Regions from separate parts of the Homo sapiens genome. Here all the other regions are linked to region 4. The links are contacts of gene promoters, found by promoter capture Hi-C in blood cells and fetal thymus (Javierre and others, 2016). All regions are on one chromosome and are shown on one strand. Each heading gives the region's core, a stretch centred on a gene start or on the middle of the fragment in contact. The rest is flanking DNA. Distances are from core to core; before and after follow the strand shown.

Evidence for each region. The method cuts DNA at HindIII sites, captures the fragments that hold promoters and counts their contacts. A CHiCAGO score of 5 or more calls a contact.
Region 1: the fragment with the promoter of ALG12 here is called in contact with the fragment with the promoter of TRABD in region 4 in 3 of 17 cell types (endothelial precursors, erythroblasts and neutrophils); the score reaches 6.9 in endothelial precursors.
Region 2: the fragment with the promoter of LMF2 here is called in contact with the fragment with the promoter of TRABD in region 4 in 10 of 17 cell types (fetal thymus, erythroblasts, total CD4 T cells and 7 more); the score reaches 8.9 in fetal thymus.
Region 3: the fragment with the promoter of SYCE3 here is called in contact with the fragment with the promoter of TRABD in region 4 in 5 of 17 cell types (monocytes, total CD4 T cells, neutrophils and 2 more); the score reaches 8.2 in monocytes.
Region 5: a fragment that was not itself captured here is called in contact with the fragment with the promoter of TRABD in region 4 in 1 of 17 cell types (erythroblasts); the score reaches 5.0 in erythroblasts.
Region 6: a contact is called between the fragment with the promoter of MIOX here and the fragment with the promoter of TRABD in region 4, in 1 of 17 cell types (M0 macrophages). The highest score is 5.7, in M0 macrophages.

Annotation. Positions count from the first base shown.
Region 1 is chr22:49,916,468-49,919,756 of GRCh38, forward strand. It overlaps ALG12 (ALG12 alpha-1,6-mannosyltransferase), which reads right to left and starts at 1,971. Exons shown (of 10, transcript NM_024105.4): 1 at 1,796-1,971. CRELD2 (CRELD disulfide isomerase 2) reads left to right here and starts at 2,167. Exons shown (of 10, transcript NM_024324.5): 1 at 2,167-2,431; 2 at 2,763-2,845; 3 at 3,263-3,289. The coding sequence starts at 2,303. RefSeq lists silencers at 1,561-1,760, 1,871-2,370. The HindIII fragment of the contact is 6,188 bases long and covers 1-3,289 here.
Region 2 is chr22:50,505,839-50,509,082 of GRCh38, forward strand. LMF2 (lipase maturation factor 2) reads right to left here and starts at 1,864. Exons shown (of 14, transcript NM_033200.3): 1 at 1,744-1,864; 2 at 944-1,197; 3 at 800-828; 4 at 447-664; 5 at 197-375. The coding sequence starts at 1,837. NCAPH2 (non-SMC condensin II complex subunit H2) reads left to right here and starts at 2,386. Exons shown (of 20, transcript NM_152299.4): 1 at 2,386-2,607. The coding sequence starts at 2,500. RefSeq lists an enhancer at 1,595-1,644 and silencers at 1,865-1,964, 2,635-2,924. The HindIII fragment of the contact is 8,515 bases long and covers 1-3,244 here.
Region 3 is chr22:50,560,682-50,564,374 of GRCh38, forward strand. SYCE3 (synaptonemal complex central element protein 3) reads right to left here and starts at 2,238. Exons shown (of 3, transcript NM_001123225.3): 1 at 2,177-2,238. LOC107985568 (a long non-coding RNA gene) reads left to right here and starts at 2,280. Exons shown (of 2, transcript XR_001755606.3): 1 at 2,280-2,886. RefSeq lists silencers at 661-859, 1,930-2,339. The HindIII fragment of the contact is 5,765 bases long and covers 293-3,693 here.
Region 4 is chr22:50,183,481-50,187,229 of GRCh38, forward strand. TRABD (TraB domain containing) reads left to right here and starts at 2,433. Exons shown (of 10, transcript NM_001320485.2): 1 at 2,433-2,496. RefSeq lists an enhancer at 145-720 and silencers at 1,606-1,675, 1,866-1,965, 2,236-2,605, 2,872-3,181. The HindIII fragment of the contact is 17,327 bases long and covers 1-3,749 here.
Region 5 is chr22:49,777,542-49,780,904 of GRCh38, forward strand. BRD1 (bromodomain containing 1) reads right to left here. Exons shown (of 13, transcript NM_001304808.3): 9 at 137-272. Among named protein-coding and RNA genes, the nearest start is that of BRD1, 49 kb to the right of the region's middle. The HindIII fragment of the contact is 4,505 bases long and covers 1-3,363 here.
Region 6 is chr22:50,485,362-50,488,945 of GRCh38, forward strand. It overlaps MIOX (myo-inositol oxygenase), which reads left to right and starts at 1,498. Exons shown (of 10, transcript NM_017584.6): 1 at 1,498-1,551; 2 at 2,024-2,104; 3 at 2,301-2,381; 4 at 2,525-2,687; 5 at 2,914-2,981. The coding sequence starts at 1,537. ADM2 (adrenomedullin 2) reads left to right here. Exons shown (of 3, transcript NM_001253845.2): 3 at 1-1,076. The HindIII fragment of the contact is 4,673 bases long and covers 1,057-3,584 here.

The DNA of each region.
Region 1 (3,289 bases), core at 721-3,220, 270 kb before region 4:
CTACTTGGAAGGCAGAGGAGGAGAATTGCTTGAACTCGGGAGGCAGAGGTTGCAGCAAGCCAAGATCGCACCACTGTACTCCAGCCTGGACAACAGAGCCAGACTCCGTCTCAAAAAAAAAGAAATAGGAAGCAAGCCGGATGTGTTGGCTCACGCCTGTAATTCCAGCTACTCAGGAGTTCAAGACCAACCTGGGCTACAGAGCCAGACCCCATCTCCACAAAAATAATCCCAGCTACTCAGGAAGCTGACATGGGGGGTACTGCTTGAGGCCCGGAGTTCAAGACCAACTTGGGCTACATCATGAGACCCCATTTCTACAAAAATAAAAAATAAAACGGAACGGGGAGCATCTACGTGCCAAGATGTGGGAGGTGCACACAGCAAGTGCTGCTTGGCAGTCCCCCACAACCCCACTCCACACCTCTCCACCCAGGGGAGTTCCCCAGCAAGGAAGAGTTCAGCTGTGGGGTGAAAACATTACGTGCTGACTCTGACACTCCTGGCGGGCCCCCAGCACCTCCTCGGACCCAACAAGGTGTGCCTTCTGCTGATGACCAGCACAGCTCACTTTCGAGGGCATGAGAAGACCAAGGGTGAGTCTGGATTCTCTGCCAGGAGCACGGGAAGACCAAGTCAACACCAGCAAGCACGAAAACCACGACGAACCCCCCACCAGGCGAGGGTGAACGGACACTGTCCTGCACTAGCCCACTCTGCTGGGCAGCTGGGCAGCAGCTGTGGCTAATCTAAGTGACGGGTGCTTCGAGAGCACCCACAGGTTAAAACGGGCCCAGGCCATGACACTTTAAAATGGTGGTTTACAGAACAATGGCATCTCAGATTAGGGAATGACCTGCAAAGACCCTCTTGTCCCCATCAATCCAGATTTTAAGGCCTCTACCGAAATTGATCAAATCAGGCTAAGCATGGTGGCTCACGCCTGTAACCCTAGCACTTTGGGAGGCTGAGGCAGGCAGATCGCTTGAGGTCAGGACTTCGAGACCAGCCTGGCCAACATGGTGAAACCCCGTCTCTACTAAAAATACAAAAATTAGCCGGACCTGGTGGTGGGTGCCTGTAATCCCAACTTAGGAGGCTGAGGCAGCAGAATCACAGGAACCTGGAAGGCGGAGCTTGCAGTGAGCTGAGATCGCGCCACTGCACTCCAGCCTGGGCGACAAAGTGAGACTCCGTCTCAAAAAAACAGAAAAGAAACTGGTCAAATCAGATGTTACTTTTTTTTTTTTTAAATGTGCAGTGTTATCTGCACTCCTTCCTTCCACAGGCAGGAGTTCTCTGAAATCCAGACGCTGCACGTTTTATTTCCCCTAATTTAAACCAGGGGTTCCTGAACATGAGCGAGTGTTCATCACCTCAAGCGCCTGTAGAAATGCAGATCCCCAGCCCCCAGAGACCCTAAGTGGACCCCAGATCCCCAGCCCCCAGGTGAAAAACCCATCCCCCAGGTGGGAGGTCCGGCCCCAGGTGAGGAGCCCGGCCCCAGGTGAGAGGTCCAGCCCCAGGTGAGAGGTCGGGCCCCCGGATGAGAGGTCCGGCCCCCGGGTGAGAGGTCTGGCCCCCAGGTGACAGGTCCAGCCCCAGGTGAGGAGCCCGGCCCCAAGTGAGGGGTGCAGCCCCAGGTAAGGAGCACGGGGCTGTGACGCGTGGACATGCGCGGTGAGGCCTCAGGAATCCAGCGCCAGCGCCAGCTCGGGTCGCGCCCTCGCCCGCCTCCTCCCTGGTCTCGCCGCGCGCCCGCCTGAAGGCCCCGGTCGCGGCAGCGCGCACTGACCTCCGCAGCTCCCGGCGGCGTCCTTCGAAGCGCGGCTGCCTGGGCCAGCCTCGGCAGGAAGCAGGACGGCGGAAACAGAACAGAGCCCGAATCTAAAGTCCTTGCCCAAATCTAAAGTGGCTACCGCAGCCCCGGCCGCTACGGCCGCAGAGACCCTCTGTGCCCTGAGTAAAGATGGCCGCCGCGGGCTGCGCGCGAGGGGCGGGGAGCGGGAGGCGGGGTCGGACCTGCACGCCCCGCCCCCGGACTCCTGGCGGCCGCTGATCCGGGGCCTTCCCATTGGTCACCTCTCGTGGCGAACTCGGATTGGGCCATATCAGGCCGGGGCGGGTCCCATCAACCAATAGCGGCGCGGGGCTGGCGGGTGGGGCGGGGCCTCGCCGGCGCCGTCAAGTAGCCTGGGGGACAGGCCGGCGCGGCTGGGAGCGGGTGGGCGGCCGGGAGGCCGGAGCAGCACGGCCGCAGGACCTGGAGCTCCGGCTGCGTCTTCCCGCAGCGCTACCCGCCATGCGCCTGCCGCGCCGGGCCGCGCTGGGGCTCCTGCCGCTTCTGCTGCTGCTGCCGCCCGCGCCGGAGGCCGCCAAGAAGCCGACGCCCTGCCACCGGTGCCGGGGGCTGGTGGACAAGTTTAACCAGGTGGGAAGGGGCCGGGCGGGGTCGTCAACCTTGGGCCCGGGGTCCCCCTCACCCTGCATCCGGGGTCGCCCCACCTTGGGCCCAGGGTCGCCCTCACCCTGGATCCGGGGTCCCCCTCACCCTGGATTCGGGATCCCCCTCACCGTCGATCCAGAGTCCCTCCACCGTGGTCCTGGAGTCCCCCTCACCCTTGACCCGGATCCACCCCCACCGTGGAACCAGGGTCGACGCCACCGTGGGCCTGGAGTCCCCTCACCCTCGACCTGGGCTCGCCCCCACCCTGGACCCGGGTCAGGTGGTACCAAGCACTATGGGCACTGTCTCCTCGCAGGGGATGGTGGACACCGCAAAGAAGAACTTTGGCGGCGGGAACACGGCTTGGGAGGAAAAGACGCTGTCCAAGTACGAGTCCAGGTGGGTGCCCTGGAGCACCCCTGTGGGTCTTGGCCTGGCGCTGTCCTGGGAAGTCGTGTCCTGCCTTTGGTGCCTGTGTTAATGACAGGGAGACAGAACAGCCCCCGAGGCACCAGTCACCCGTCCGAGTCACCTCGGCTTCTCCCTGAGGACTAATGGCTGGCCCCTCTCTGGCCTTCCAGCTTCTGCTCTGGTCCCTACCCCCTCAACAGACAGTGGCTTTTCAAAATGTAAACTGGAACACCAGCCCCACTTGTGGGAACCGCTCCTGGCTTCCCCTGACAGTGGGGTCCCCTTATTCTCTGTGCCCGGAGTCCTGGCTCCCCGGCCCCTGCACCCAGGTTGGCGTATTGGTTCGGATTTTTCTTCACTGCCTTGGAGGCGCTGACGGTGGGCCGGTGTGGGCCTGTGTTTCAGCGAGATTCGCCTGCTGGAGATCCTGGA
Region 2 (3,244 bases), core at 614-3,113, 320 kb after region 4:
CTCCCGGAGACTGACGCCTGGCCCCGTGGCAGGCACCCACCTCCACCCTGCAGGGTGCATCCCTCTGCTACAAGGCCTTCCCAACAGCGGTTGCCAGCTGTCCCCGGGAGCCACGCTGTCCCCAACAGGGCACGCTGAGCAGCGCTGAAGGCCGAGCCCTGTCTGCCTCTCTCTGACAGCTGCGGCCCTCACCCACCTGCGAGTAGAAAGCAGCCAAGCGCAGGCGTCGAATGGGGGCGAAGAACAGGGGCGGCACAGCGATCTCAATTAGGAAGGTGGCCACCACGCTGAGCTTGTGCAGCCAGACCGGCAGGTGGTGTGCGAACCAGGCGGCGGGCGTGGGCAGGCACTGGGTCTCGTAGTGGTAGGTGAGGGCTGCAGGCGAGGGCAGGAGTCAGGGCTGGCCGAGCCCCCAGACTACCCCAGGTCCAGACCGGGCCCCTCACCAGTGAGCCCCCACCACGCAGGGCAGCGGCTGGTCAGCTTGACCACGCCTGAGGCGAACATGAGGCGGAACAGCAGCCATCGCACCAGCCAGAAGGGGAGGTCTTCGTGGGGCAGGGCCCCTGCCTGCCTGCCCTGGGGGGCCTCCTTGCGGTGGGAGGCTGGCCTCAGCGGGGCCACCAGCACGGCCAGGAAGCCAGTCTCTAGCAGCAGGGAGTCCCTATGGGGAGAGCAAATAGCACCAAGAGCCCCTCCCCACACAGCTGCTTCCCTCGGAAAGTCCTCCCAGGAAGGGCAGAGCCCTCCCCCACCCCCTACCCAGCCTCCCACAGCCCCAGGCCCAGCCGTCACTCACCACTGGAAATAAAGGAACACCTGGCCCACCTGCGGAGAGAGGGGCTGTCAGGGAGCGGGTGTGTCTGTGGACTCAGGTAAGGTAGAGGCAGGGGTGGGTGGTGGGGGTTGGAGATAGAGTGAGCTGGTCACAGGTCCCACTTGCCTGGCAGGCTGACAGGTAGGCGGCCCAAAGCAGCAAGTAGATGACAGGGTGGCGCAGTGGGCTCAGCAGCAGGGCTCCCAGGGCCACTAGTGCACCCAGCAGGCTCAGCAGCTCCAGGCCCTGGGCCGTGTCCAGCCCCAGTCTCGGCGCTTCCCACAGCAGCGTCGGGGTCTCCCACAGCTGCTGCCAGCGCCCCTTGCCCTGAGGCCGCAGCGTCCTCCTTGCAGGTAGGATGCCCTCGGGGCCATACAGGCCTGTGGGAGGGCATGTCATGGCCAGGCCCTGGACAGCCCTTGCAGACTAGACTACCTCTGAGTCAGGGCCTGCAGATCCCCCAGCCTAGGTCAGAGCATGCGGATACCTCCATCCCTAGGTCAGAGTCTGCAGTCCCTCCAGAGCCCGTCCCCCAGGTCGGGACCTGTCAAAACCCCGTCCCAGGGCTAGAGGCCTGCTCAACTACCTGAGTCAGGGCCTCCCACCCAGCAGAGCCCACTGCCCTCTTCCAGGTCTCAGCCCGATCTCCTACCTGTCCCACCAGGTCTGGGAGGAAGCCTCTCTCCCACCTCTCTCAGAGTTCTGTCCCCCACCCCAGGTCAGAGTCCAGAGCCTTACGGGAAATGGATCACCGCACACCTTCCTACCCCCACAGCGGCCTGCAGGACACGAACCGCCGCCCCCTACCCCACGCCAAGGCCTGGCCCTCACTCCCAACCCCGGACTGCGTGAGTGCCGGGCACAGAGAAAAGAGGACATAGGGTCCCGCGCCGAGGCTGGGGGTGTCCCACCCTGGGTGCCTTCACCTGGGATTTGCGTGTAGAGGGAAGCGAAAGCAAACATGAAGACGGCCGCCACGCCCTGGAGGAAGAGCTGCCGCGGGAGCCGGGAGCCCGCCATGTCCGCTACGCGGCCCGCTAGAGCAGGGCCCGCCCTCCGCGTCCGCCCGCCCGCGGCAGCCCCAGGCCCCGCCTCCTCACCGCCCCGCCCGCCCAATCCGTGGCAGCCCCAAGCCCCGCCTCCTCGGCCCGCCCGCCCGCCCGCGGCAGTCCCAGGCCCCGCCTCCTCACCGCCCCGCCCGCCCAACCCGTGGCAGCCCCAAGCCCCGCCTCCTCGGCCCGTCCGCCCGCCCGCGGCTGCCCCAGGCCCCGCCTCCTCACCGCCCCGCCCCCCCAACCCGTGGCAGCCCCCAAGCCCCGCCTCCTCGGCCCGCTCGCCCGCGGCAGCTCCAGGCCCCGCCCCACCCCGCCCCGCCCGACCCACGGCGGCCCCAAAAGCCCTCCCGTCCAAACTGGTGGCAGCCCAAAGCTCCGCCCACCCCCCCCTCCCGGAGGCTTCGACCCCGCCCCGCGACTCTTCCGGTGAGCTCCCGCTGCGCGGCGCCGGGGTTCGCCTCTCTGGCTTTTGCCCACGTTACGTCATAGACATGCGCGCGACGCCGCGCCTACGCATTTTCCTGGGCGGGAACAGCAAAATGGCGCCAGAACTAGTGGCGGGCTGAGGACGCCGTACCCCTCGGAAGGCAGCCCTGCGGTCCCTTTGCCGCCCGTTCCCTCCCGGACATGGAGGACGTGGAGGCGCGCTTCGCCCACCTCTTGCAGCCCATCCGCGACCTCACCAAGAACTGGGAGGTGGACGTGGCGGCCCAGCTGGGCGAGTATCTGGAGGAGGTAAGGGCGGCGGGGGAGTGACGCGGGGTGGGCCGGCGGGTGGGGCTGCGGGGCGGGGGCTCCGGGCCCGGGGCTGTGGGCGCCCCACCGTCTCCACGCCTATGGCTATCTGGCGCTCTGGCCGCGCAGGTCCTCGGGCTCCCTGCTTCTTTTCAAACTCCATCTCTGCCTCCCCAAATCATCCCTTGTTGGATTAGCGTGGACCTGTCATTGCAGGTTTCTACCCGTCAGCGAGCCGTGAATGATTGAGTGGGTGGTGACCAGCCGTTTCTCTAACGTAGTGGAATAGACTAGAAAGCATTATTGCTTTTATTGCAGTTATTGCGAGCATGCTTGTGTGTTTGAGAGGTCTGGATCACGATGTCAGAGGAATTTTTTATCTTGGATTTTCAAACCAATTTCAAGCTATTGCCATGCTCTATCCTGTTAGCGATTAGTGTTTCTTCCATGTTTGACAGCCCTGTCTAGACCTGTGTTAAGCTGTCTGCTCCATATTTGCGCTTCATTTTTACTCCTCAGCCCAGCTCAGTCTGGCGTCCACGACACTTAAATGTTTCTTGTCTTGATCAGCAGTGATCTCCATTCTACCAAATCCAAGGGACATAAGTCAGCATTTGTTGGACTGGCCACTCCTTTC
Region 3 (3,693 bases), core at 988-3,487, 380 kb after region 4:
GAATTCTTCGTTTCTAGGCTGTGTGGAAAGAGCTACCTGGACAGAAAAGCCTGAAGAATCAGAAGAAAGGGCAACTGATGGTGCAGGGACTGGTCTCAGACAAGTAAGGGGTCATTTCACCCTATGAAGGTAAGGGAAGGTAAGGAGGTAGAGATAGAATAAGGTAGGTAGAGGTCAAGGTAGGATGGCAAGGGGGGGATTTCAGGCCCGATGGTCTCTAACTCCCTAATAAATGGCAATGAAAAGTTTCTTCTTGTAACAACAGACATTCTTGGTTTGAGGAGAACGATAAAGCTTTATCAAAGCTGCATGCCTCCCTAGGGGCACCTAGGCATGTGACTGAGGCCACATGGCCACAGTGTCCTCAGGACCCTAAGACGGCACAGAGACAGTGGATGGAGTGTAGAAGGCCTGGGAACGTAAACATACATGCAGTGGATGGACAAGGTAAGGACACTGAGAGCACAAGTATGAGAGTGGCTTAAGGGGTGGTTGATGGTTGGGGTGAAGCAGAGGCATAGAAAAGACATGTAGTTTCTATAAGTGGGGCGTTGGGGTGGCCACAGGTAGATTTGGGGATAGAGCATGAGACTGCTAGAAGGATGGAGGCTGGGCCGGAGTGGCACTGGATCTCAGAAGAGGGATGGATCTGAAAAGGAGATCCAGGGAGAGGGTGTGAGAGCTGATGTGGAGGAAGCAGCCACAGGATTAGAATTCACGGCATTTCTTGCCTAATGAGGTTGCCTGGGATGACTGGGAACGGGTGGAGAAAGAGGCCTGAGCCCGCACCAAAGCACAATGGAACGGAGCTTAGGATGGGTGGCGGAAGTGTGGGGCGGGAGGAGCGTGGGGCGGGAGGAGTGTGGGGCGGGAGCGTGGGGCGGGAGTGTAGGGTCTGGCTTGGGTATCACTTTAGGTGTGAAGGACGGGGGTTGAGCGAGTCAGAGCCTAGAGTCTGGTTTGTGGTCTGAGTGTCTTGCCTGGTACGAAGAGTTTCTAACAGAGTCTGGGATCCCTCTGAGAACAAGGAATGTGAGGGGATAAGAGGGATGCTTGGTGCAGAGATGTGCTCTTTTGTACGGGATGAGAGCAGCACAGGAAGGGAATGCACCTGTGATGTGGGAGAGAAGTCTTGGAGTTGGGCTATGAAGAGTCTGGGCGGGTCCTGAAGTGCAGGTGGAGGAAGCCAGAGGTGCGTGTGGGAACTTGGGGTGTGAGGTGGTGTGTGGACTCCGGGGTCCCAGGTGTGGCAGGTGTGAGGGTAAGAGGGGCAGGCTGCACGGAATGAGAAGCCCAGGGTGTGCAGACTTCAGGATCAGGAGTGTATGGTGTGAGGACATGGAGATTAGGTTAAGGGGGTGAAGGACTGAGGTGAGGGATGTAAGGTGGGGAGAGTGGGGTATGGAGTGTGCAGTGAGGGGAGCGGGGGAGGGGTGAGGCGGGGTGAGGCGGGGTGAGGAGGGGTGAGGGGTGAGGCGGGGTGAGGGGTGAGGCGGGGTGAGGGGTGAGGCTGGGTGAGGAGGCGGGTGAACGGTGACGTGAGCGATGAGGGGTGAGGGGCGAGGCGGGTGAGGCGGGGTAAGGAGGGGTGAGGCGGGGTGAGGGGTGAAGGGTGAGGCGGGGTGAGGGGTGAAGGGTGAGGCGGGGTGAGGGGTGAGGGGTGAGGCGGGGTGAGGGGTGAAGGGTGAGGCGGGGTGAGGGGTGAAGGGTGAGGCGGGGTGAGGGGTGAGGCGGGGTGAGGGGTGAGGCGGGGTGAGGGGTGAGGGGTGAGGCGGGGTGAGGAGGGGTGAGGGGTGAGGGGCGAGGCGGGTGAGGCGGGGTGAGGAGGGGTGAGGGGTGAGGCGGGATGAGGGGTGAGGGGTGAGGCGGGATGAGGGGTGAGGGGTGAGGCGGGGTGAGGGGTGAGGCGGGGTGAGGGGTGAGGGGCGAGGCTGGGTGAGGAGGCGGGTGAGCGGTGACGTGAGCGATGAGGGGTGAAGGGTGAGGCGGGGTGAGGGGCGTCGGGGGAGGGGCATGGGGTGTGGAGTGAGTGGAGTCGGGTGAGTGGAGTTGGGTCGAAGTCAAGGGTCTGGCTTGAGGTTGGTGCCACCGCGAACGCTAGGACAGGGTCAGGCGGAGCCCAGCCGTCAGGGCGCGTTGGGAGGGCCGGGGCCCAGGGGGGCGCGGCCTCGCTCACCTCCAGCTTGGCCCGCGCTCCGGTCCTGCTCTGGCGCCCCCAGCGGCCGCTTGAGGAACAAGGCCGCTCCTCGAGAGGGATGCCCCGCCCTTTCCGTTAGCGAACCCTCCCCGGAAGTGACCTCTCGCCCTCATTGGGTGTCCTCGGGAAAAGGGGCGGGGCATTCCGCGCTGCTCCCACAGGTCTGCGGCGTCCGAGTCTGGGACTGGCAGGTGCGGTGCTGGGGACGTCCTGAGGTTGAGGGAGAATCCTGCGGAGATGAAGAGCTTCCCGGCCTGACAGTTTTGCCCCCACCTCCTTCTTGAGCTTAAGGATTTATACGCAGGGCCCCGTTTGCCTGCTGTGTCCCCAGTGTCCAGGACAGCGCCCGGTACCAAAGGTGCTGGTAAACATTTGTCGAATGAGTCGCTGAACGCCCAGCTATTTCCACTGTCACAGCGATCATGTGTGGCGGACATTATGTGGCATGTATCTTACAGAGGAGGCAGCCCGGGCTCAGGGAGACGAGGCAGAGGTGCACGCAGGTCTATGTGGGCTGGAAAGTGCTGGGGCCTCCCGGGCGCTCCTGGTCTCCAGGCAAGAACTGGAAGCAGAGCCACTCAACACCTAGAAGGGCAGTGACAGAAAGCTCTGGCTGGGAGGAGGCTGACCAGAGGCCAGTCTGAGCTCAGCCTTTTTTTTCAGAGGGACGTGGGCACCCTAGAAGGGTGGTAAGTAGGCGAGTGGCAGAGTTAAAAGGTCTCTGGCTGCCGAGGCGGGTGGCGACGGGGCCGGCCGTTGCTGTTGTTTGGCTGAGTGGTGGACAGGGTCAAAGCCATTCCAAGGTCGACTTGACAGGGCTTGGTAATGTGGGAGGGAGGGAGAAAGAAGCAAGGGGCTAATGGCCGGGGTGATACCACTGGCAGAGATGTGGAAGAGTGGGAGAAGCTAGCTTGGAAGGTTAACTTTGATTTTGAACACCTTGTGTTTGAGAATCCTGACAAACCTTAGACCCCCTGAATTTTCTCTCAGGGATTCTGATTCTTAGCAGCCTGATTGCAGAGGAGGAAAAATGGCTGGGGTTGAGCCAGACAGTTCTGGGCAAGGAGTGAGCATTCGCTTGTTTATTGAGGAGGCTGCTGCCTGGGCCACACTCCCTCCGCCAGCTGCCAGGTTCCTGCCCCGGTTGAACCCGGTTTTCTGGCCATCCCTTTCCACCTGTGAGCTGCTCTTCATACTTCCATTTGCTTATACAGCCCAGAGCCGATTTCTGTTACAGCAGCCCAGAGAAACATGAATAGGGAATAATTCTTTTTTTTTTTTTTTGAGACGGAGTCTTGCTCTGTTGCCCAGGCTGGAGTGCAGTGGCACGATCTCGGCTCACTGCAACCTCCGCCTCCCAGGTTCAAGTGATTCTCCTGCCTCAGCCTCCCTAGTAGCTGGGATTACAAGCACATGCCACAACGCCCAGCTAGTTTTTGTATTTTTAGTAGAGACCGGGTTTCGCTATGTTGGCCAGGCTGGTCTCGAACTCCTGT
Region 4 (3,749 bases), core at 1,183-3,682:
CCTGCCTCAGTTTCCCCAGCACGCTCCCTGAGGACTCAATCTCCCCCTTTTCTGCTTCTCGCCCCTCACAGCCTAGTGCAGCCCTGCAGGGGACCCCAGCCGGATCGGAGGGCAGTTCTGCTTCTCCACTGTCTGCTGCCCACCGGGGGCTGGGATCTCGGACACTCTCCCCTCCCCAACTGGCCACCTTGCCCAGGTGAGTCAGAGGGTCGTTCTGCAGCCCGGGGGCCAGCGTTGGTTTGAAATAGTGCCCCCTCCTGCCCCTCCCCCTCCCTGAGCATAAGCAGGCCTGGCAGGTGGATAGAACCGTCCCTCTCATGGAGAAGGAGGGGCTCCAGGAGGACCTTGCACCCATCCCAGATGGCCAAGACTGAGAACCCAGGCCTCCAGCCCCCAGGCCAGGGATCTTCCCTCCACACCAGCCCAGCACTGAGAAATGGGTGAGGTGGAGCCGGGGCGACTGCCACCCGCTGCCCTCCTGTGAGGATGTGGCCGAGATGGTCGGAAAGGCAGAATGACCACAAAGGCAGCGAACAATGAGAATCAATGGAGAGGATGTGAACCAGAGGCCCTAGGGCCCAAAGTGAGTGTCCTTCACCAAGGAGGACAGAGGCCTCTCTAAGGCCAGGCCTGGCCATTTGGGGACCAGGAAGCTGTAGGAGGGGGCGGGGCCTCTTGTGTAAGAATGCTCAGTGGGCAGCCAGCCCAGCCTGCTGCCGTGTGGACAGGCATTTTCACCCATCCGCCCCACCCCGGGAGGACCACCTGCAGACTCAGGACCAGGGACCTGAGGGGACCCCTGCAGGCCACCCGAGCCGGGGCAGCTCCTCAGAACCTGGGGCTGGGGCCGGGGCCTCCCTTCCTGGAGCCTGGAAGGAAGCAGGCTCCCCAGCACGGAGTCCTGGTGGACGGCCTCAGGCAGACCCAGACCAAGCCTGGGCGCTGCGTTGGACTCCCCCAACCCCAGGCCTGCTGGGTCAGCCTTCCAGGCTCGCTGAAGGTTCCTGCGTGGGGCAGCCCTCACTGAGGTCCTCCCCGTGGCTCCAGAGAGGAGCTAGTCCTAGGGCACTCGAGTAGAGAGGTGCGCCCTCCTCCCTCTTCTAAATGGTTCCCCAGCTGGCCCCACCTGGCCCCTTTCCCCAACTAACTCATCAGTGCCTGGCAGGAAGACACAGCAGCCCTCCCCCGGTGACTGGAGTCCTGGCCCCAGGGCAGGCCCCGCTCCAAGAACCTGATCCTTTGGCTGGGGCAGGGCCGTAGAGGTGGGCGCAGAGCTTCGGGGAGCTGGCTGTGGGGTCCGCGCATGCAGCCCGCAGGCAAACCATTGCCAGGCCCACGCCTGCACTAAGCCCAGCGCCAGCGCCAGGTCAGCCAAGAACCCGGGGTCGTGGAGGAGGAAGGAAGTCGTGGGCCCGGGATGCGCGGCCGGACCATTGCAGGAGAGCGGGGCAGGCGGACGGCGCAGCAGCTTGCGGGCAGCGAGTCGTCTGCATGCGGCGGCGAAGCGCCCGGGCCCCCGTCCGCGCCGGTGCCCGCAGCGCGCAGCAACTTGGCCGCCGGGTCCCGGCCGCCCCGGTAGAGGCTGGGTACAGCGAGGGGGCCGGGCGCCCGGGCAGGACGGGCGCGGCGGGTGGGGCCTGGCCGTCTCCCCCTGCCCTCGGGGCCGAACACGCACAGCGAGAGTCTAGCGTCGGCGTGGCTGCGGCCAGCCGGGTCCCCCTGGAGGCCTCCGGACGATCGGAAGTGACTGAGCGTCCGGGTCCGTGAGGCCGGGGGTCGGCCCGCCCTAAGACTCCCACCTGGTCCCGGTTCTCCGTCCGCTAGGCTGGCCGCGGGGCCCCTGGGGCCCGACCTTCCCGGGGTGCCCCAACCTGCGGCAAGGCCGAGGTCCCGCTGAGGCATGAGTCCCGGGTCGGGGACCGCTCTGGGCCGACCCCCGGAGGACGGACTAGGCCGATCCCCAGAGGGAAGGGGGCCAGGCCGAGGCCATGGCAGCGCGTTCCCTGATCCCGTGTTCTCGGCTCCTCGCGTCCCACTATCGGCTGTCCCTTTCGTGCGGGACTGACGGCTCACAGAACAGTTACATTTCAATATCATTCGACTGAAAACCATCCTGTGGACGCCGTGCGAGCATTGTCCCCATTTCACAGCTTGGGAGCTGCGACCAGAGAACGTGGGCGCGCCTCGCAAGGCCGTGACCGCGGCGGGACTCGAACCCTCCCTCCTGAGTGCGCGCCGATGTTCCTTAGGACCCGGGAGCGCCGGGGGGGGGGGGGGGGGCGGGGGCCCCGCGCGCTACCCCCTGGGAAGTGTAGTCCGAAGTTGCGGGCCGGGGCCAAGCAGGAGGCGCGTGGGACTACACTTCCCGGCATGCCACGCGGCCGCCGGCGCCCTCGGCCCGTCCGCCCCGCCCCGCCCCGCGGCCCCAGCCCGCCCCGTCCGTTGAGGGCCCGCGCCGCATGGAGGCCGGCTGAGGAGCGCCGCTGCCTCGCCTCGGTACGCCGCGCGGCGCGGACGGCGCGTGCGTGAGGACGGGGCCCAGCACCGAGCGGGGGGCGGGCCCGGGTCAGGGCCGCGGGGTGACTGTGGGGGGCGGGGGGAGCGAGCCCGAGTCGGGGGGTGGGGGCCGGGGGCGGGGGGGGTCAGGCCCGGGTCAGGTTTTGGGGCCGGGGTAGCAGGTCGTGGGGGTCAGGCCCGGATCAGGTTCAGGTTTTGGGGCCGGGGGAGCAGGTCGTGGGGGTCAGGCCAGGGTCAGATTCAGGGTTTGGGGCTGGTAGACCAGGGTCGTTGGGGGCCGGGCCCGGGTCAGGTTTGGGGGCCGGGGTGGCAGGTCGTTGGGGGGGCCAGGCCCGGGTCAGGTTTTGGAGCCGGGGGAGCAGGTCGTGGGGGTCAGGCCCGGGTCAGGTTTGGGGCGGGAGCAGGCCCCGCGCGTCCCCTGCCACCGCTGCCGGGAGCGGCGCTGCCGAGGAGCGGAGCCCCCCAGGGCTGGGGCGGGGAGGGTCAGCGGCGGCCTCGCGGGAAGGCGCGGGTCGGACCTCGAGTCCCAGGGTCCTCGCGGGTCGGGAGGGCCCCAGCCACCCCCGCCTGCCGCCTGCGGTGGAGCCGGCCGAGGTGAGAGTGGAGGAAGGCGGCCCAGGCCTGCGGGTCTCTGGGGGTGCTGGGGGAGGCCGAGCGGGAGGCCCCGGACCCCCGTTGTCCCCTCCGGCCCCGCTGAAACCTGGGGCTTCGCTCTTCTGTAGGTGCCTTTGCCCTTCAATTGGAGCAGAGCGGGGTTCCCATATGGGCGAAGTGGACGCCAGATCGTCCCCCGCTGTGCGCAGCCCAAACTTAAAAGGTCTTTTTAACTGAGCTATCATGAAGCTGCCGTGTGTCTTTGTCAAAACTCTTACAAGAAAGATGGAGTGGGAGCTGTCTGGGCACTAGCGTCCCAGAAACAACCAGGAACTTGTGGAGGTGCTAAGCTCCCTGCGGGGACTCCCGCAGCCTCGGTAGCCTCCAGATGGAAGCCTCCTAGCTTTCAGGTCCCTGAAGAGGCCGTGCAGGCCGCCAGGCTCACTGCGCTGTGTGTCTCTGCTCCCCGCTTGCTGCCGCCGCCCTTGCAGTGTGACTGGTGGGGATGCTGGCCAGCCTCGCCGGAGGCCCTGATGCTGTGGGGTCCGAGGAGGGGGCCTGGCAGGGTGGGTGGGTGGCAGGAGCCTGTGGGGCCCCCTGCATGGTGGTCAGTGTGGGGGCTCTGCATTGACTGTGAC
Region 5 (3,363 bases), core at 621-3,120, 410 kb before region 4:
CACACATGAATCCCAGGCCAGAATTTTTCAGAGAACACTAAGATGGGAGCTGGAATGTCCCGGCTTCCAGGACAGCCAGGCGGGGCGGGCGGTGCTGGGAGCTGCGTGGTGGGAAGCGCAGGGCCGCGGTGCCCACCTCGAGTCGCAGAGCGGGCTGTTGCTGGAGGAGATGCTGGACTCGGAGGCACAGCGTCGTCGGGGTGTGGCCTTCCTCCCCAGGCCGCCGCCCGGCTCCTGCTCGCTCCTCGCACCCCCAAAGCCGTTGGTGAGACCTGGAACACAGGCGGGCAGGCCCTGAGCTCAGCACAACCAGGGCACACTGAAGCATGACTCAACGACGTTACACTTGGAACACATCTTACAAAGCACGTTTCACAGACAGGTAAGACAGCATCTTCCTTTTCACTCCCAAGTTCCCGAGCATAGTCCTTACAGTAAGCAGACACCAAAGTTACTCGTTAAATGAAATCAACTTAACAAACTGCAGTCGGCTCCGATCGTAGTAGTTTGCTGAGCACCATGAAGATGCTCCTCTTGACAAGCCCGGGTCTTTAGACAGGCTCTGTGAAGGCAAAGAAAGGATGCCGTGAGCCTGCCATGGGGGCAGATGTGCAACCTGTGAGTGCAAACACGGGGGCGGCCTGTCCACGTGGGCACCGGCCGCGTTTGAACGGAAACTTCACCAGGCCGAAGGGGCCACCAAAGACACAAAAACATGTTCACAGGAGCAGAGCTCCAGGGAATAGGAAATCAGGTTTTAAAAAGAAAAAACCTTGGTTCAAAAGACAAGTGTTAACATGAAGTCAAAAATGCTGACGAAACACTTTAAAACACAAAATCCGGGGCCATCGCCGTGTCTGAGTGTGTCTGGCCTCACTCACCATGAAGCTGCAAGTACTGTACACAGCTAAACAAAACACCACTCACAATTCCATCATCTCAATGTTTAAAAAATAAGGCAAATCTCAGTATTTTCCCCCTAAAAATCCTGACTTTGTCAGTCAACGGGAAACAACACATCTGCCCAAGGCCCCCCGATGAGGTCCCCCATGGGAGTCACAACGGGGGGATGATGTTCCTGCTGGGGGCCCTCTGGGTGTCAGAGCTAAAGGGGTGTGTGATTTTTTTTTTCTTTTTTGAGGCGGAGTCTCACTCTGTCGCCCAGGCTGGAGTGCAGTGGCACGATCTTGGCTCACTGCAAGCTCCACCTCCCGGGTTCACGCCATTCTCCTGCCTCAGCCTCCCGAGTAGCTGGGACTACAGGCGCCCGCCACCATGCCTGGCTAATTTTTTGTATTTTTAGTAGAGACGGAGTTTCACCGTGTTAGCCAGGATGGTCTCAATCTCCTGACCTCGTGATCCGCCTGCCTCGGCCTCCCAAAGTGCTGGGATTACAGGCATGAGCCATGACACCCGGCCATGTGAATTTTTTTATCCAAAAAGAACCCCGTTTTCCTGCCTACCTACCTCATCCTTAAAAAATTTTTAAATCTATTTCCAAAGGAAATTATGTAAATTTGTAAATAGAGCATTTCTGTAGAATTTTTTTGGAAACGATGTCTCACTCTGTCACCAAGGATGGAGTGCAATGGACTCCATGGCTCACTGCAACCTTGACCTCCTGGGCTCAAGTGATCCTCCTGCCTCAGCCTCCTGAGTGGCTGGGAGGCATGTTTTGAAGGGAATGGCTGGACTGCGGGATTTTCCACCCGCTTCGTACGCTTCCCGTCTGTTCTCAATGAGCACGACCGACTTTTCAATACAGGGGCTGAATCAGCCTCCACCCGCTTCATACACTTGCTGTCTGTTCTCAATGAGCATGACTGACTGAAACAGAGGGGCTAAATCAAGCTCAGAAGGGAATGCACAGATTGGGCGGGTGCACTGCTGCCCTCCACAGACTCAAGTCAGACACCGGCTCCGTCTCTCCTGGACTGGAATGTACCGTGACCTCCAAGGGAAGCTCTGTGTTTCTCATTTTAACCTCGGTCATTTTAAGGCAGGAACTGTGGCCAGTTGGGGGTGTCATACTCATTTCTGGCAAGGGAACAAATAAATTTAAAAACCTACAGGAGAAGGCCTTGAGCCACACGCTGAGCTGCCCTGGGGCTCCACATGCTCCCCATACTCATCACAGAGTGGGCTCAGACCCTGCACACTCAGGCCCCGAAGATGTCTCAAGAGGGAATTAAAAGTCCCGTCCTGGCCCCCGAGAACCCCTCAGGAGCAGCGACTCCATCCCTACTCCAACCTGAGTGGGTGAAGGCAAGGGAAGCCCACCCAGCTCGCATCAGCAGTGGACGGACGGAGCCCAGCACCCCTGCCAGCATTCAGCCCACAGGCCCGGAGAGGGGTCTGCCAACGCGTGTGACCCGTCTCCAGAGAGCAGCCACGAGCCTGGCGACCCACACCCCACAGCCCGGCCCCCAGCACACTCCAGACCCCAGGTGCAGGGTGAGCCTGCTCCAGGCTGAACAGACGCAGCCCAGGGCCTGGGTGGGGAGGCTTTTAGTAGTTACTGGTTGGCCGAGCAACGGCCACTTGGGGGAAGACGATGACCAGTGCGGCCTTCACAAGACTGCCCAGAGGTGCCAGCCTGAGGGCCCTAGCACGAGATCACCCGCAGCTGTGCCAGCACCAACACAGCCAAGCCATGCACAGACCACTCAGCAGCCACGACGGCCCCGGCTCCGTGTGCATGGAGTGGGGCCAGGAAGGGGATTAAAACACAAGGCAAGTCCTTAATTCTCAGAAAGAGGAGAATGATAAAATGCCCCTCTTAATTTTCCTAAGCATTCAGTGAGTGCGCGTATGACGCAAGAACACACAGAGGTTCTGCGTGTCACCCATGAAAATGTGACAGCACCCGGGAAGACGTGGGCAGCACAGACAAACCCAGCCCAACCGAGACACCACCCAGCAGGAGGCCTGGCGGGGGTGGGACAGCTGCAAGGCTTGCTAACAGGCGGTCTGGGGGCTGCGGCAGTGCGGGGTCACCCAGGAAGCCAAGAAGCCAGACCAGGACACAGACACATCCCGGGAGGCTCTGCAGCCACCGCCTGGAGTCCCCAGAACCTCGGGGGAGCTGCAAGGTGGCCTGCGCTGCCCGGACCCTCCCAGCCTCCACCTGGACCACCAGAAAATAATCTAAGACAGCTATGGTTCTGAGATCTCTCAATCTCGGCCCTGCCAACTCCCGCCCTGGGAGGCTCTTCCAGCCAGCTGGGAGATGTCCACCATGACCCGCACCTCAGCACCCCTGCAAGGACCTCAGCCCAGAACATTCTGAAGCCCAGGCCAGCCTTGAGGTGGGGCCCAACGTGGGGAACCCAGGGCCTAAGGTCTGCAGAGATGGGTGCCCGG
Region 6 (3,584 bases), core at 248-2,747, 300 kb after region 4:
CCTCTCTTCCTTCACACCTTCCTCTGAATCCCACCCGGTCCCACCTCCTGAACCTATCCAGACACCTTCTCCTGACCCAGGCACCACCTGCTTTCGGGGCGATGGCCGTAGCCTCCTCCCAGGCACCTGTCTGCATCCCTCTGGCCAGTGCATGCTGAGCACGTGACCTACCCGTGTTGGGACACGTGAGGATACAGCCTTGACCCCCAGGGGCTGACATTCTAGGGGGAGATAGAAGGAGACAAACGTAGAAGGTAGAATAAGTGGGTGGTGGAGTGGCAGGGAGTGCTGAGTGCCACAGGAAGTCAGACAAGGAAGGAGAGTGTGGGGCAGGTGCCGTTTAAATGGGGGGCGCTGGGGTCTCCTCACAGTTGCTTCTCAGCTCAGCTGTGCCAGGATCTTGTTGAGTCAGGTCAGCTGCCCACAGCCCTCTTGCCTGACCCCTGAAGCCCAGAACTCTGATCTTCACAGCCCTAGGTATGGCCCCAGCACCCCACTGCCCTCTCTCCTGCCCCAGCCGACTGCTGTTCCCAGACTTCCCTGGCCACGCTCCAAGACGCCAGCTCTGCCGCGGGCACTTTGTTCTCACGGTGTCCTCCATGCCTGCAGGGCCCATGCATGGGAAGTTGCGTTGGCGGCCTGGGTGTTGGCGGTTCCGTGCCTGCTCCAACTCTCCGTGAGGCCCCTCTCCCAGAGCCTGACACACTCTGTGGCCGAACTCTAGGCAGGTGCCCCTGAGTCCTTTCCTCGACGAGGCCTGACCCCATCCCCATCCTCGCTGGGCCCGCCGACCCCGGTGTTAGCAAGAATCCTCTAAATCAGTTTATGGAGAATTACCCACCCTCGATATCTGATCCCATTCCTCATCTCCCACCCTTGATCTCATCACCCTGCCGGCCTCCTGCAAGATCCTCATTGAGCCACTCCAGTGAGAATCCCCCTACCCTCGAAGGCCGCCCTAACAACTTCCCATCCGCTGACCCCTCCAACGCCATCAATCTCCAGCTGTGGTTGTTGAACTCGGAGGTGAGCTCCTCTCACCACTCTCTTGAATAAAGCTTTTCTCACCATTTTAACAAGTCCTCAGAATCATCTTTTCTTAACAAGCTCCTGCCCCACCCAGAATCACGGGGGGCCTGGGGACAAGTTTTCACCTCCTGAGATCCAGTGGGGCAGCCGGGGAAGGGGTGGTGCAGAGGGGGCGTGTGCTTGAGGGTGGGGTCTTGGGTCTGCCCCTACTTGTGGGACCCCACAGAGGGGTCTAAGGCCAGGGCCCAAGTGGGAGGCTGGGCCCACAGATAACCCTAGGCAGGTCAGCGGCTCGGGACAGGAGTGTGAGGCTGAGTCAGGGCCAGAGGATGTGGGACTGCTGGGGGCTGCTGCTGTGCTGACACATTAACTCCCTGAGGCCGGGAGGAGGGTGGATGGTCATTTATTACTGCGGACACTTATGTAACCTGGGGTGTATATAGGAGCCTGGCTGAGGACACACTCGCCAGCCTGTGCTTTGCCACCTGAGCGCCGCTCCCTCTCAGGATGAAGGTGACGGTGGTGAGTACCCAGACCCCATGCAGAGAGGCTCTGCTGACTGCTCTCCTGGTGGCCAGCCACTCCCGCCCTCTTCTAGCTGGCACTGGCCAGCCCTCCTCCTCCGTCCAGCTGGGCAAGAGCCAGCGGCTGCCGACCCCCAGGCTCCCTGTGGACTCAGTCTCCTCCCAAAGCCACTTCCACCCCTCAAGGGTGGCCATGGGTGCCGCTCAGGCGTGGTGTCCCCTGTACCCCGGAAGCAGACGTCTGCTGACTTTCGCTTTGCAGATGAGGACCTGGGAGTGAGAGCTCCTGGGACTCGCTGAGGCCAGGGCAGGGGCTGGGATGATGGCGTGGGAGAGGCTGTGTCCTCGCGTGTCACCCACCAGCCCTCGAGCAGAGGCAGGCTTGGAGTCTGCAGCCACCCTGGGAATGTCTGTGCTTCCTCGTGGAGCTGACATGATGGTGAAATAGGTTCAATCCTCCACCTACCCAGGGCCCAGACCCTTCCCTGGTCTACCGACCTGATGTGGACCCAGAGGTGGCCAAAGACAAGGCCAGCTTCCGGAACTACACGGTGAGTACCTTGCCGTCCTGCCCCCCTTCTCCCCCATCCACACCCTGGGGAGCAGCACTTGCCCTTCACACAGTTCCAGGGGGTGCCCTGTGGGAACTCCCACCCCCATCACACCCTGTGGGGCTGCCTGGGAGAGGGGAGGCATGGGGCCTCGTGTGCAGGGTGGGGGTGGCGCCACTGACCCTCCGGCCTGCAGTCAGGTCCCCTCCTGGACCGTGTCTTCACCACCTACAAGCTCATGCACACGCACCAGACAGTGGACTTCGTCAGGAGCAAGGTAGGCGTTTCCTGCCGCCCCGTGCAAACGCGGAGGGACCCTTGCCCTCAGCCCCATGAGCCCACCAGGCGCCGAGGGGATGGAGAGGCCTGTGTGGTGGGCCTGCTGACCCTGGGCCACACTGCCTTCTCCTTCCCCGCCAGCATGCCCAGTTTGGGGGCTTCTCCTACAAGAAAATGACAGTCATGGAGGCCGTGGACCTGCTGGATGGGCTGGTGGATGAGTCGGACCCGGACGTAGATTTCCCCAACTCCTTCCATGCCTTCCAGACAGCGGAGGGCATCCGGAAGGCCCACCCAGACAAGGGTGAGCCCTGGCTGTGCTGCAGGGGGGCAGGTGCTGCCTCCAAGGGGCAGAATGCAGCAGCCTGTAGGGTGGGAGGGGACAGTAGTGGGCCCAGGCCTCCTCCAGCAGCCCTGCCTGGGTTGGGGAGCAGGCCCTGGACCCTTCCTGGCTCTCAGCCCCGCAAACCTGCTCATCCTCTGCCTTGGCCCCTGCAGTCCCCAACCTGCCCTGTCCATCCCCCTCCCAGACTGGTTCCACCTCGTCGGGCTCCTGCACGACCTGGGGAAGGTCCTGGCCCTGTTCGGGGAGCCCCAGGTAAGAGTTGGAAGTGGAGGGTGAGGAGGCTGCATGTTGAGGCAAGGTGGGGGTGGAGTGGCCTTGGTGCTTGGCCTGGGATACTACCTGGGGGACAGGCCAGTGCACCCCCCACGGCCCCCCGACGGCTGCCTGTCCCTCTGGTGGCCTCGGTGCTTGGCCTGGGATACTACCTGGGGGACAGGCCAGTGCACCCCCCACGGCCCCCCCCACGGCTGCCTGTCCCTCTGGTGGCCTCGGTGCTTGGCCTGGGATACTACCTGGGGGACAGGCCAGTGCACCCCCCACGGCCTCCCCGCACCACTCCCCCCACGGCCCCCCATGGCCGCCTGTCCCTCCTGTCACTCTGCAGTGGGCGGTCGTCGGCGACACCTTCCCCCACTTCCCCCACGGCCCCCCATGGCTGCCTGTCCCTCCTGTCCCTCCTGTCCCTCCCATCCCTCCCGTCCCTCCTGTCCCTCCCGTCCCTCCCATCCCTCCTGTCCCTCTGCAGTGGGCAGTCATCGGCAACATCTTCCCCCACTCCCCCCATGGCCGCCCGTCCCTCCTGTCCCTCTGCAGTGGGCAGTCATCGGTGACACCTTCCCCCACTCCCCCCATGGC